Linked DNA regions of Homo sapiens: region 2 is linked to region 1. The links are contacts of gene promoters, found by promoter capture Hi-C in human tissues and cell types (Jung and others, 2019). All regions are on one chromosome and are shown on one strand. The core of a region is centred on a gene start or on the middle of the fragment in contact, and the rest is flanking DNA. Distances in the headings are between cores, read along the strand shown. Region 1 holds the start of OPN1SW (opsin 1, short wave sensitive). Region 2 has its middle 6.9 kb from the start of HILPDA.

Region 1 (5,727 bases), core at 1,817-4,316:
GAGTGGCGGTCTTTCGGAAATAATTAAGTCAGCTGGGCACAGTGGCTCATGCCTGTAATCCCAGCACTTCGGGAGGCCGAGGTGGTCAGATCACCTGAGGTCAGGAGTTTGAGAACAGCCTGGCCAAAATGGTGAAACCCTGTCTCTACTAAAAATGCAAAAATTAGCTGGGCATGGTGGCACAGACCTGTAATCCCAGCTACATGGGAGACTGAGGCAAGAGAATCACTTGAACCCAGGAGATGGAGGTTGCAGTGACCTGAGATTGGCTCAGATCCTACTGAGGAGATGCTGGAGACAGGAGAGAACTATTTTGTTTTGCTTCAGGTTTCATTGATTTTTCTCCATTCTTTATTCATTTTTAATTTCAATGTTTTCTGCTCTGCTTTTTAGTATCTGCCCCTATTTATTTTAGATTTGATTCACCCTTTCAGCTTCTCAAGGTGAAAGTTTAAATTTTAAACATTTATTGTCTAGTATAAATACTTAAAGCTATAAATTTTTCTCTAAGTACTGCTTTAGCTGACTCCTTCAATTTCTAATACTTTTTTGTTGTTATTCAGCTGAAATTCTTTCAGTTTTTCCTTATGATTTCTCTTTTGACTCACAGGATATTTAGATGTATATTGCTTATTCATAAGTGTTTGGGGGATTTTCCAGATATCTTTTTGTTATTGATCTATCTGTAAGTTCACTGATCCTTTCTTCTGCTGTCCAATCTGCTGTTCAGCCATCTAGTAAATTCTTCATTTGACATGTTGTAGTTTTCAGTTCTGGAATTTCCATTTGGCTATTTTATTTTTCCCATTCTTCTGCTGAGATCCATTAACTCACGATGATCATTTTTTTCCTTCCAGTTCTTGAATATATTTATATCGCTGTTTGAAGTTTTTCCTGCTGGTGCCAACTTCTTGGGTCATCTCAGGTTCTGTTTCTATTGCTTGCTTTTTCTTTTGGCTATGACTCATATTTTCCTGTGGGTTTTTTTTTTCTTTCACACGCCTTTTAATTTTTCATTGTATATTAGACATTGTAGATAGTGAACTTTAGAAACTGGGTTATCTTCCATTGAGGGGTGTTGATTTTTGTTCTAATAAGCAATTAACTTACTAGTTGATCACCTTGAACCCGCTGAGGCTTGGTTTTATCTTTTGCTAGTATGAGTCAGCTTTGGCTTTGACCTTACTCTCAGAACAAATATTTAGTCCTGGGATATAGATTTTAGCTCTATGGTGTGGCCTTTTGGGAGTTTCAAGTAGAAAGCCCTAAGTGTTTACCCAGACCCTCTGACTTGGGATTCAAATTCAAACTCTTTCTCTGCTACAGTGGGTAACAGTCAAAATCTGCTTAGCTCTTTCAGACCTCCAGTGGTTGTCTTTTACTGGGCTCTTGGAAATTCCTCCATCCACAGTTCAGCAGTCAGCCTATGATTTGAGGGGAGTTTATATGCAGATTTAAAGACTTTGCCTTCTGTGGCTTCTTTCATTCCAGGAAATCCACCTTCAGCTGTTCTGGAGTCCCAAACTGTCCTCTGTCTCCTGTCCTCTGTCCTCTGACTCTTCAAGCCAAAAAAGGCTGGGGCTTTCTGCTCAAGTTCTAGCTATCCTGTGCCATTTATACTCGGGAGTACACTCAGGGAAAAAAAAAAACAACAATGTAGATGGTTCTTTTCATTGAAGAGTTGAGTTCCTTTCAGTTTCTGCCTGCTTTGGATACTTTAGGTGTTTTCAAAAAGTTGTTTTTCATATTGTGTCCAGTTTACAATTTTTTTGCCTAAGGGGGCATTCATCTAATAAACTATTCTGCCATTACTGGACCATCCTTTCACTTTTAAACTTACTTATACCTAAAGTGTGTCACTTTTAACTCATCTATATATATAGTCTCGCTCTGTCCCACAGGCTGGAGTGCAGTGGCGTGATCTCGGCTCACTGCAGGCTCCGCCTCCCGGGTTCACGCCATTCTCCTGCCTCAGCCTCCCAAGTAGCTGGGACTACAGGCGCCCACCACCACACCCAGCTAATTTTTTGTATTTTTAGTAGAGACGGGGTTTCACCGTTAGCCAGGATGGTCTCGATCTCCTGACCTTGTGATCCACCCATCTCAGCCTCCCAAAGTGCTGGGATTACAGGCTTGAGCCACCACGCCCGGCCAACTCATCTATATATTTATGATCTGCTGAGGTGGAAAAGATTCATTCATAAAGCCTAAAGTGTAGTACTGAGTACAAGTGCAGGTGGAACTTAAAGCAGAGTTGGTGTCACTGGGGTGGGCTGCACAGAAGAGGTGTTTGTGAGGTAGGCTGTGAGGGCTAGATAAGACTTCAATGAACAGACAGGAGGAAGACTGTGGCGACTTGTTGAGCTAAGGGTAGGGGTAGGCATGAACATGGCGTAAGGACAGTGAACAGACCCACCTCCCTGGCTGGAGGTCTGAGTAGGAAAGGCACACTCTTTGAGTAGATTCAACACAAAGAAATGGAGGCAGCCTGGCTCAGGGATGCCCTAGACCTCTAGGCATTGTCAAGTTGCCTAAGTCCTGTTCCATCAAGGCTGTTTACTGATGTGCTTCCAGGGCACTCCCCACTCCCAGCCCTTTCCTGCAGCCCAGGGCTGGTTCCTAGCCTCTCAGCAGACTTAAGATGGGCACCTTCCACAAAGGGGCAGATGAGTTGAGGAAAACTTAACTGATACAGTTGTGCCAGAAGCCAAAATAAGAGGCGTGCCCTTTCTATAGCCCCATTAAAAGAACAAAAAAGTGGAAGCATCTTCAGTGAATATGGGTCAGCACCTCCCAGACCTCAGGGAGTCCACTTCTGTTCATCCCAGCACCCAGCATTGCATATCCAGATTATTTGAGCCCAATCTCTTATCCTCTGAAGAACACAATCGGCTTTGGGGCCACAAAAGGTTTAGGTAGTGGTTTAGGGATTTCTAATCCCAAACTTTGTCCTTGGGAGGTTTAGGATTAGTATTGATCATTCACAGAGCCCAAGTGTTTTTAGAGGAGGGGTTTTGTGGGGTGGGAGGATCACCTATAAGAGGACTCAGAGGGGGGTGTGGGGCATCCATGAGAAAAATGTCGGAGGAAGAGTTTTATCTGTTCAAAAATATCTCTTCAGTGGGGCCGTGGGATGGGCCTCAGTACCACATTGCCCCTGTCTGGGCCTTCTACCTCCAGGCAGCTTTCATGGGCACTGTCTTCCTTATAGGGTTCCCACTCAATGCCATGGTGCTGGTGGCCACACTGCGCTACAAAAAGTTGCGGCAGCCCCTCAACTACATTCTGGTCAACGTGTCCTTCGGAGGCTTCCTCCTCTGCATCTTCTCTGTCTTCCCTGTCTTCGTCGCCAGCTGTAACGGATACTTCGTCTTCGGTCGCCATGTTTGTGCTTTGGAGGGCTTCCTGGGCACTGTAGCAGGTACTGCAGGGGAAAAAGGGGTTAGGGGAAGGCAAAGGTTGCTACTCCACTGGAGGGGGTTCCTAAAGAGGAGTCTGGGGGAAATGAGTCTGGTGCTTTTTAAAATACTGGGGTACAAAGCAACCCAGACTAGAAGTTTGGCTAAAATAGGATGTTTGAGTCTTCACTCCAAATGTCAGTCCAGCCCTGTCTCTCTGTGCTTGCTCCACCCGATCTGTTTGCCACTCTGCCAGCCAGGCTGGGTGGGGCTCTGTCTAGCCCATTATCCTCACATTTCACCACAGGTCTGGTTACAGGATGGTCACTGGCCTTCCTGGCCTTTGAGCGCTACATTGTCATCTGTAAGCCCTTCGGCAACTTCCGCTTCAGCTCCAAGCATGCACTGACGGTGGTCCTGGCTACCTGGACCATTGGTATTGGCGTCTCCATCCCACCCTTCTTTGGCTGGAGCCGGTGAGAGTGCAGGGCAGTGGTGCTGAGTTAACTAGGAGCTCAGGTTGATGTGGGTGGAAAGAGAGCTTGGGTATAACTATTTAGTCTTTGACCTCTACTTTTAAAGAGTTGCAATATGAGGCGAAAGGGCAGTGGGAGACAAGTGCTAACGTTTACTCTGCAGTTGGAATTGCTGTAGCTTCTCCCAGTCAGGACAGAAAACCCCCCTGCTTGAAGCCTTAGGGCATTCCGTGGGTTCTAAGTGGAGAACACAATCCAGGCATCTCAGCTCCCACTGCACTCTTGTGGAGAGTCCAGTGAGCAAGTGTTTGGTCCTTTGCAGGTTCATCCCTGAGGGCCTGCAGTGTTCCTGTGGCCCTGACTGGTACACCGTGGGCACCAAATACCGCAGCGAGTCCTATACGTGGTTCCTCTTCATCTTCTGCTTCATTGTGCCTCTCTCCCTCATCTGCTTCTCCTACACTCAGCTGCTGAGGGCCCTGAAAGCTGTGAGTGGCATTTGATAGTCAGGGAAGAAGGGGTTCGGGGCTCCACATGAGAAGGAAGAGTGCTCTGAAACATAAGATGCCTGGAAATGTCCATAGCCAGAGAGGGTATCTAAAAGCAGCAAAGGAAGTAGGAGGAGGGAGAATGATGGAGATCCAAAGGAACTAGGCCAGGAGATGGGACAGAAAAGAGGCAATCAGAGTGGATGCCCCCTCCCCCATCCCACAGAAAAGCATCCAGAGACCGGGCGCAGTGGCTCACGCCTATAATCCCAGCACTTTGGGAGGCCGAAGCAGACGGATCACCTGAGGTCAATAGTTCCAGACCAGCCTGGCCTACATGGCAAAATGCTAAAATGCGAAAATTAGCTGGGCATGGTGGTGTGTGCTTGTAACCCCAGCTACTCAGGAGGCTGAGACAAAAGAATCACTTGAACCCGGGAGGTGGAGGTTCAGTGAGCCGAGACTGCACCACTGCAACTCCAGCCTGGGCAACAGAGCGAGACTCGGTCTCAAAAAGAAAATTAAAAATTAAAAATTAAAAAAAAAAAAAAAAAGCATCCAGAGGGCCAGGAAAAAGAGAGATGTGATGCTTTCCGTGCTCCACCCCAGGTTGCAGCTCAGCAGCAGGAGTCAGCTACGACCCAGAAGGCTGAACGGGAGGTGAGCCGCATGGTGGTTGTGATGGTAGGATCCTTCTGTGTCTGCTACGTGCCCTACGCGGCCTTCGCCATGTACATGGTCAACAACCGTAACCATGGGCTGGACTTACGGCTTGTCACCATTCCTTCATTCTTCTCCAAGAGTGCTTGCATCTACAATCCCATCATCTACTGCTTCATGAATAAGCAGGTAAAGCTCTTTATTCACATTCCTATGGTCCAGAAGACCCTGGTTCTTTTCTCACCATTGACTTTTAACTCAGAGCACCCTGGACTCTACCCAGGTTTCTAGTAGACGAGGGAAGCCACAAAACCCCCGAGTAGGTTGGGAAGCCTTTGGTAAGCACAGGGAGGAAGGCACGGTTATCAAGACGAGAAAATAGAACCCCGGAGGAAAGAACTTGAGTCAGGAAAATGAAGTTGCTCCAAAGAACAGGATGAATGAAAGCATTTTATTGAAAAACTCGTGCAGCAAACCACCATGGCACACGTTTACCTATGTAACAAACCTGCACATCCTGCACATGTATCCTGGAACTTAAATAAAATTAAAAAAATAAAAATAAAAACTCAGATTCCTCTCAATTTTCAGTCCTTGCATTTAATAATTTCTTAATCATTTCCCTTCCAACTTTTAGCCTGCACGAGCATGTGTGAAGCACAGAAATCATACCACATGCAAAAATCTCTAAAATATCTTATCATC
Region 2 (6,416 bases), core at 1,697-4,196, 330 kb after region 1:
CAACCAAGGAAAGCTTTTTATAAGCTGCCCTTCCCCCAAAGCCCCTAAAAAGAAGTGATTCTGAAGTCAACCCACACAAGAGTACCATACTAAGAACACAAGTATTTTCACAAATTTGATCTTATCATCAAGTGTTCATTTAAATAACATGTACTTACATTTCTGGTAAGTATAAACTGGTACATTCAGTATGGAAATCAATTTGTCAGTAATTGTTACCCTGACCCCCACTTGTTTTTTAAACACCTCAAGACCATTGAGGTGTTAAAAAAGACCACTGACTACCATTTGGCAATGTCTATAAAAATAAAAGCATACACATGCCCTTTAGCCCAGAATTCCACTTTTAGGATTTATCCTTCCACATGTAGAGAATGGAGTGTTTAAAGGTAGCACTGTTGCAGCACTGTTTGTGATAATGAAAGACTGGAAAAAACAGCCCATCAGTAGAGAACTGGTTAAATAAAAGATGGTGCATTCAGACAGTGAATTACCATAAAGCCAGAAAAAAGAGAGTAAGTTCTGTATATATCGACAAGATCTCCACAATATATTGTTAAATGAAAAGGGTTTATAGTATGTGAGCAGTATGCTACATTTATGTTAAAATGAACATAAAAAATAGAATACAATGAGACACCACCTCACACTCACTAGGATGGCTATAACACAAACAAGCAAAAAAACCCAGAAAAGAACAAATGTTGATGAAAATGTAGAAAAAACAGAACCCTCATACATTGCTGTTAGAATGTAAAATAGTGCAGCTGCTTTAGAATAGTTCCTCAAAAAGTTAAACATAGAGTTACTGTATGATCCAGCAGTTTAGCTCCTAAATATATACCCAAGTGAACCGAAGATGTATGTTCACACACAAACGCTTATACACAAATGTTCATAGCAGCATTATTCATAATAGCCAAAAAAGTAGAAACAACCCAAATGTCCGTCAACTGGCTAAAGGATAAACAAAATGTGATACAATGGAATATTATTCAGCCATAAAAAATGAAGTATTGATACATGCTACAATATGGATGCACCTTGAACACATTATGCTAAGTGAAAGAAACCAGAAACAAAAGGGTACATATCGTATGATTCCATTTATATGAAATGTCAGAATAGGCAAATCCAGGGCTGGGCGTAGTGGCTCCCACCTGTAAGCCCAGCACTTTGAGGATCCCAGCACAGAGACCAAGGTGGGCAGATCACTGGAGGTCAGGAGTTTGAGACCAGCCTGGCCAACATGGTGAAACCCTGTCTCTACCAAAAAGACAAAATTAGCCAGGCATGGTGGTGCTGACCTGTAGTCCCACCTACCTGGGAGGCTGAGACAGGAAAATCGCTTGAACCCAGGAGGCAGAGGTTGCAGTGAGCCGAGATCACACCACTGCACTCCAGCCTGGGCAACAGAGCAAGACTGTCTCAAAAAAAAAAAAAAGGCAAATCCACAGAGACAGAAAGTAGGTAAGTGGTTGCCAAGGGCTGGAGGAGAGGGGACTGGGGAATGACTGCTAGTGGGTACAGGGTGGTTTTTTTTTTGGTGTGTGGGCTGGTGATGAAATGTTCTAAAATTAGTGCTGACAGTTATACAAGTCTATGAATGTACTTAACCATTGAATTGTATCCTTTAAAACGGTGGATTTTGATATGTGAACTATATCTGAATAAAGTCATTATTTTCTTTAAAGGAGGGCAAGTTGAAGACATCGTCAGATGACAAACAAAAACAGAGTTAGCTGCCGTAGGCCCTTACCGTGGAAACTACTGAAGAATGAACCTAAGACACAAGAAAACTGAACCCAAAAGGAAATAGGGAAATGCAAGAAAAAATGGTAAGGAAATATTTACAAAACATATGGATGTATCTAAACAAATTATGACTACTCAAAACTATTTTTAGTAATAATGGTTGATTTAGAAAAGTAAAAATAACAAGATAAACTGAAAAATTGGTAAACATTTCAGATGGGAACAGTGAGCAAAGATGAAGTTTAATATGTTTTTATTTGGGAGGAAAGTAAATATTGATTAATGTTAGACTTTTTTTTTTTTTTTGAGACAGAGTCTTGGTCTTGTCACCCAGGCTGGAGTGCAATGGTGCAATCTCGGTTCACTGCAACCTTCGCCTCCCAGGTTCAAGTGATTCTCCTGCCTCAGCCTCCCGAGTAGCTGGGATTACAGGCACCCACCACCATGCCCAGCTAATTTTTGTATTCTTAGTAGAGACATTTCACTATGTTGGCCAGGCTGGTCTCAAACTCCTGACCTCAAGTGATCCACCTGCCTCAGCCTCACAAAGTGCTGGGATTACAGGTGTAAGCCACCACACCCAGCCAATTTTAGACTTTTTAAGTCTGTATATTAAAATGTTAAGAGTTGGTTGGGCGCGGTGGCTCATGCCTATAATCCTGGAACTTTGGTAGGCCAAGGCAGGTGGATCAGTTGAGGTCAGGAATTCAAGACCAACCTTATTAAATAAATAAATATATTTATATTTATTATTTATTTTTATCTTTTTGAGACAGTCTCACTCTGTCACCCAGGCTGGAGTGCAGTGGTGCGATCTCAGCTCATTGCAACCTCCACCTCCCGGGTTCAAGCGATTCTCCTGCCTCAGCCTCCCGAGTAGCTGAACTACAGGTGCCAGCCACCACACCTAGCTAATTTTTGTACTTTTTTTTAGTAGAGATGGGGTTTCACCATGTTGGCCAGGCTGGTCTCGAACTCCTGACCTCAGGTGATCCACCTGCCTCAGCCTCCCAAAGTGCTGGGATTACAGGCATGAGCCACCGCACCCGCCAAAAAAAATTAAAATGTTAAGGGTAGCTCTTCCTCTTCCTTCTCTTCCTGTACAATTCAGTCTTCAGGCCATTAGGTAAAATAGTACAAGGTGTCTACAATGAAGAGGAGGGCCGGTGGCCCAGAGTGGAATGTCACTTTTATTCACTATTATGTCCTCAGTGTCTGAAACATGTTCACTCAATATTTGGCTCACTGTGTCACTTCCTTCTGGACCCTGATCAAATGTCATTTCTCAGGGAGGCTTTCCCAATCATTTCATGTACAGTAACACTCACCACCTACTCTTCTCCTTTACCCTGTTTTATTTTTTCTTCATAGTACTCAACACCAACAAACCTGTTTTATATTTATTTGTTGATTATCTATCTTCCTCCGCTAGAATGTAGCTCCTTGAGAACAAGGACTCGGACTATTGTGTCAATTATTATGTTCCTAAACCCAGAATAGTGCCTTCCATGTGGTATATGCTCAACAAATATTTGTCGAATGAACGAATCATGTTTATGTATCTGAGATATTTTATAACTGAAAGGAAACACACCAAGCATGGTGGCTGACGCCTGTAATATCAGCACTTTGGGAAGCTGATGTGGGAGCATTGCTTGAGCCCAAGAGTTCAAGACCAGCCTAGGCAACATGACAAGACCCCGTCTCTAAAAAAATTAATAATAATTATGACAGAGCAGCTGATCAATTTCTAATTCTATTTATTGATGTTTGTTGCACAGCATTTTTACAGTGATCATCTCTGGGTGATATAATGAACTCCTTTTTTCCTCCTATTTTCTCCCATGTGCATCTGTTACTTTTACGATCAGAGAAAAAAATTAAAATTTACTAACATTTTGTAAATTTACAGCTTGAGCAACATTGTGACAATGAAGGGAAAACAAACACAGGAGTTTGGATGGGGAAATTGGGTCAAAAGCTTGGAGCAGCTAGTGGGAGGCGGGAGTGGAGTGGGAGGGCCTGGCAGTATGGCACCAGAGGAAGGTGCCCACAGAGAGTTGGCCCTGGAAGTTGGGCAGAGGGCACCCAAGGCAAGCAGTGGCTTCTTCACCTCGCACCTGAGCCAGCAACCTAAATTCTGAGTCTGGTTGTGGTACTAACTAACCACTCACCTGGGGCCAGCCACTTCTTCAGGCCTCAGTTTCCTCATCTGTGAAGCTCAGGTCTGAGGGAGACAAGCTGTCTCTCTCAGAGCCTTTCTACCTAAGAGGTGTGTGGTCCTAGAACCTGCACTGAGAAGCTGTGGTGTGGGTGGGGGACTCCCACTGACACAGCAGGCCTCTGCTCTCAAGCTCTGTCTGCGAAATACTGGATGAACAGTGTAGAATAGGAGAAAAACAGTATTCAAAACTATATGGGCTCTCTAAGTTATCCATGATAAATGCATAGAGAGAGAGAGAGAGAGAGAGAGAGAGACTGACAGTGTATCTACTCTTAAATAGTAACATTTTTCACTGGGCAGGGTCCTCTTATTCATTAGTCACAATAAGCACAGTTCCTGGGGCCTATAGACTTTTCAGGGACTCTCAAACATATTTGAGATATAGAAAACAAAATATATTGGCTTCAAAAAATTTTAAATGACAGAACTAAAATTCATAAACATTTAATCAAAGGTCTGCAAAATATATGTTAACTAGACAGTTTCCTTCTTTTCTTTTCTTTTTTTTTTTTGAGATGGAGTTTCGCTCTGTCACCCAGGCTGGAGGGCAGTGGCATGATCTCGGCTCACTGCAACCTCTGCCTCCCAGGTTTAAGCAATTCTCCTGCCTCAGCCTCTTGAGTAGCTGGGATTACAGCTGCCTGTCACCACGTCTGGCTAATTTTTTTGTATTTTTAGTAGAGATGGGGTTTCTCCATGTTGGCCAGGCTGGTTTTGAACTCCTGGCCTCAAGTGATCCACCCACCTCAGCCTCCCAAAGTGCAAGGATTACAGGCATGAGCCACTGTGCCTGGCCAACTAGACAGTTTCAACTCAGCACAGTAACTTCAGATGTGAGATGTGGGTGCATTTTAACATGATGGGGCATCCCATAGCAGGCATATCTGAGGCCTGTGGAAGTAAAGTGAGGATGGGGTGGATTATGGAGGTTTTATAGTTTCTTGAGTTTCAATTTTTCTACTATGAGCATGTATTATAAGAAGAAGAAAAAGTATTGTGAATGTTTTGAAAAAGTCTGTAAATAAAACCTTAGGAAAGATTTGGGGTGAAGAAGTCCCTACTTTCTCATCTCAGTAAAGGCTTGGGGACAGTCCTCTGTCTTATGGAGGTAATTAGAATCAAAAAGGAAACTCACTGGAAACATGTATTTAAGAGTTTACTCATTCTATGCTGTTTTCCAAGTTATTTCCATCCAGCAGTTTAGGATAAATCTGTGTATTGACATGTTGCTCTCTCTTTCCTTCATGGAACCATAAAATCATTGAATGTTAGAACATAGCGGGAGCCTTCCTCCTTGCTGTCACCTTCTCTTGGTGGTCACAGTGGGCTCTATGAGCATGGGAGAGCCCAGGTTAGCTGCAAAAGGGCCAGGCCTCAAATGAGCTCCGTTGCTGCCTGGTAGATGGTCGAGGTGCTACCAGAGGAGATGGGTGTCTTGCTCCAGGCAGGGAGGCAGAGTCTGAGTCTCTGGGTTGGGAGACAACGGGGTTCTCCTGGTGTCTGTGCTGTTGTCATTCACAATGACAACAGCTGCTCTTCCCTCTGCTGCATGTGTTCACACACACATGCCCTACCTTTACACACGTGTGTGTGCACATGGGCACATTTTCTCTCTGCCTAGACAGCTGGCACCTCTCCCCCAGACACAGATGCCCAGACATTTCTGCTGCCAGCCAACTCACTCCGTGGCTCTGTTCCAACTCGGCTAGAGCAGGGCAGGGGGCTGTTCCTGCTGTCTCTTATCTTAGCCAAGAAGGACAGTGGCTGCTGTCAGGAGAGGGGGTAATGAGGGGTAGAGGACAACTGGTCTTTGAGGAGACTCCCACCGTTTTTTCCTTCTCCCAGTGATCCTTCCTCCTTTGGCTAAAGGACTGGAGAAAAAGCTGTCCAGTCAGAATCCCTCCTGTCAACGATGAAGGCCCAAAGCCCTACCCACACCGAACCCCTCAGCCCCTCGCCTGACAAATACTCAAAGTCAGCTAAAACTATTGGTGTCTCAGGCTCCCAGCTCTCCCATTTGACCCTGGAAACCTCCCCAGTCCCCCATCCTGGGTTCTTTTGCATGTTGGAGTATCGCTTGCTGATACGGCGTTCGATGTTTATACCTCTCAGTTGATAAGCATGTTCCGTCTAGAGAACGTCTTGTATATTATTCTTAAAAGTTCTTACCAGGGACTCCAAAGGGTGTCCCTTTTGAAAAACTACTCACTGAGTGCAGTGTTCACTGTTCGGGTGATGGGTTCACTGGAAGCCCATTATGCAATATACTCATGTAACAAATTTGCACATGTACCCACTGAATCCAAAATAATTTTTTTTTTTGAGACAGAGTTTTGCTTTGTCACCCAGGTTGGAGTGCAGTGGTGTGATCTTGGCTCACTGCAACCTCTGCCTCCTGAGTTCTAGTGATTCTCCTGCCTCAGCCTCCTGAGTAGCT

Evidence for each region. The method cuts DNA at HindIII sites, captures the fragments that hold promoters and counts their contacts. A contact is called where the count stands out against the background at its distance.
Region 2: a contact is called between a fragment that was not itself captured here and the fragment with the promoter of OPN1SW in region 1, in 2 of the 25 tissues and cell types used here (adrenal gland and bladder).

Annotation. Positions count from the first base shown.
Region 1 is chr7:128,773,133-128,778,859 of GRCh38, reverse strand. It overlaps OPN1SW (opsin 1, short wave sensitive), which reads left to right and starts at 3,066. Exons shown (of 5, transcript NM_001385125.1): 1 at 3,066-3,421; 2 at 3,706-3,874; 3 at 4,197-4,362; 4 at 4,972-5,211. The coding sequence starts at 3,079. CALU (calumenin) reads right to left here. Exons shown (of 7, transcript NM_001219.5): 7 at 5,460-5,727. RefSeq lists cis regulatory regions at 2,600-3,069, 1,970-3,069, 1-3,069, 1-3,069, 2,078-3,072 and 1 more. The HindIII fragment of the contact is 13,114 bases long and covers 1-5,727 here.
Region 2 is chr7:128,445,724-128,452,139 of GRCh38, reverse strand. No RefSeq gene overlaps it. Among named protein-coding and RNA genes, the nearest start is that of HILPDA, 6.9 kb to the left of the region's middle. The HindIII fragment of the contact is 7,397 bases long and covers 1-6,416 here.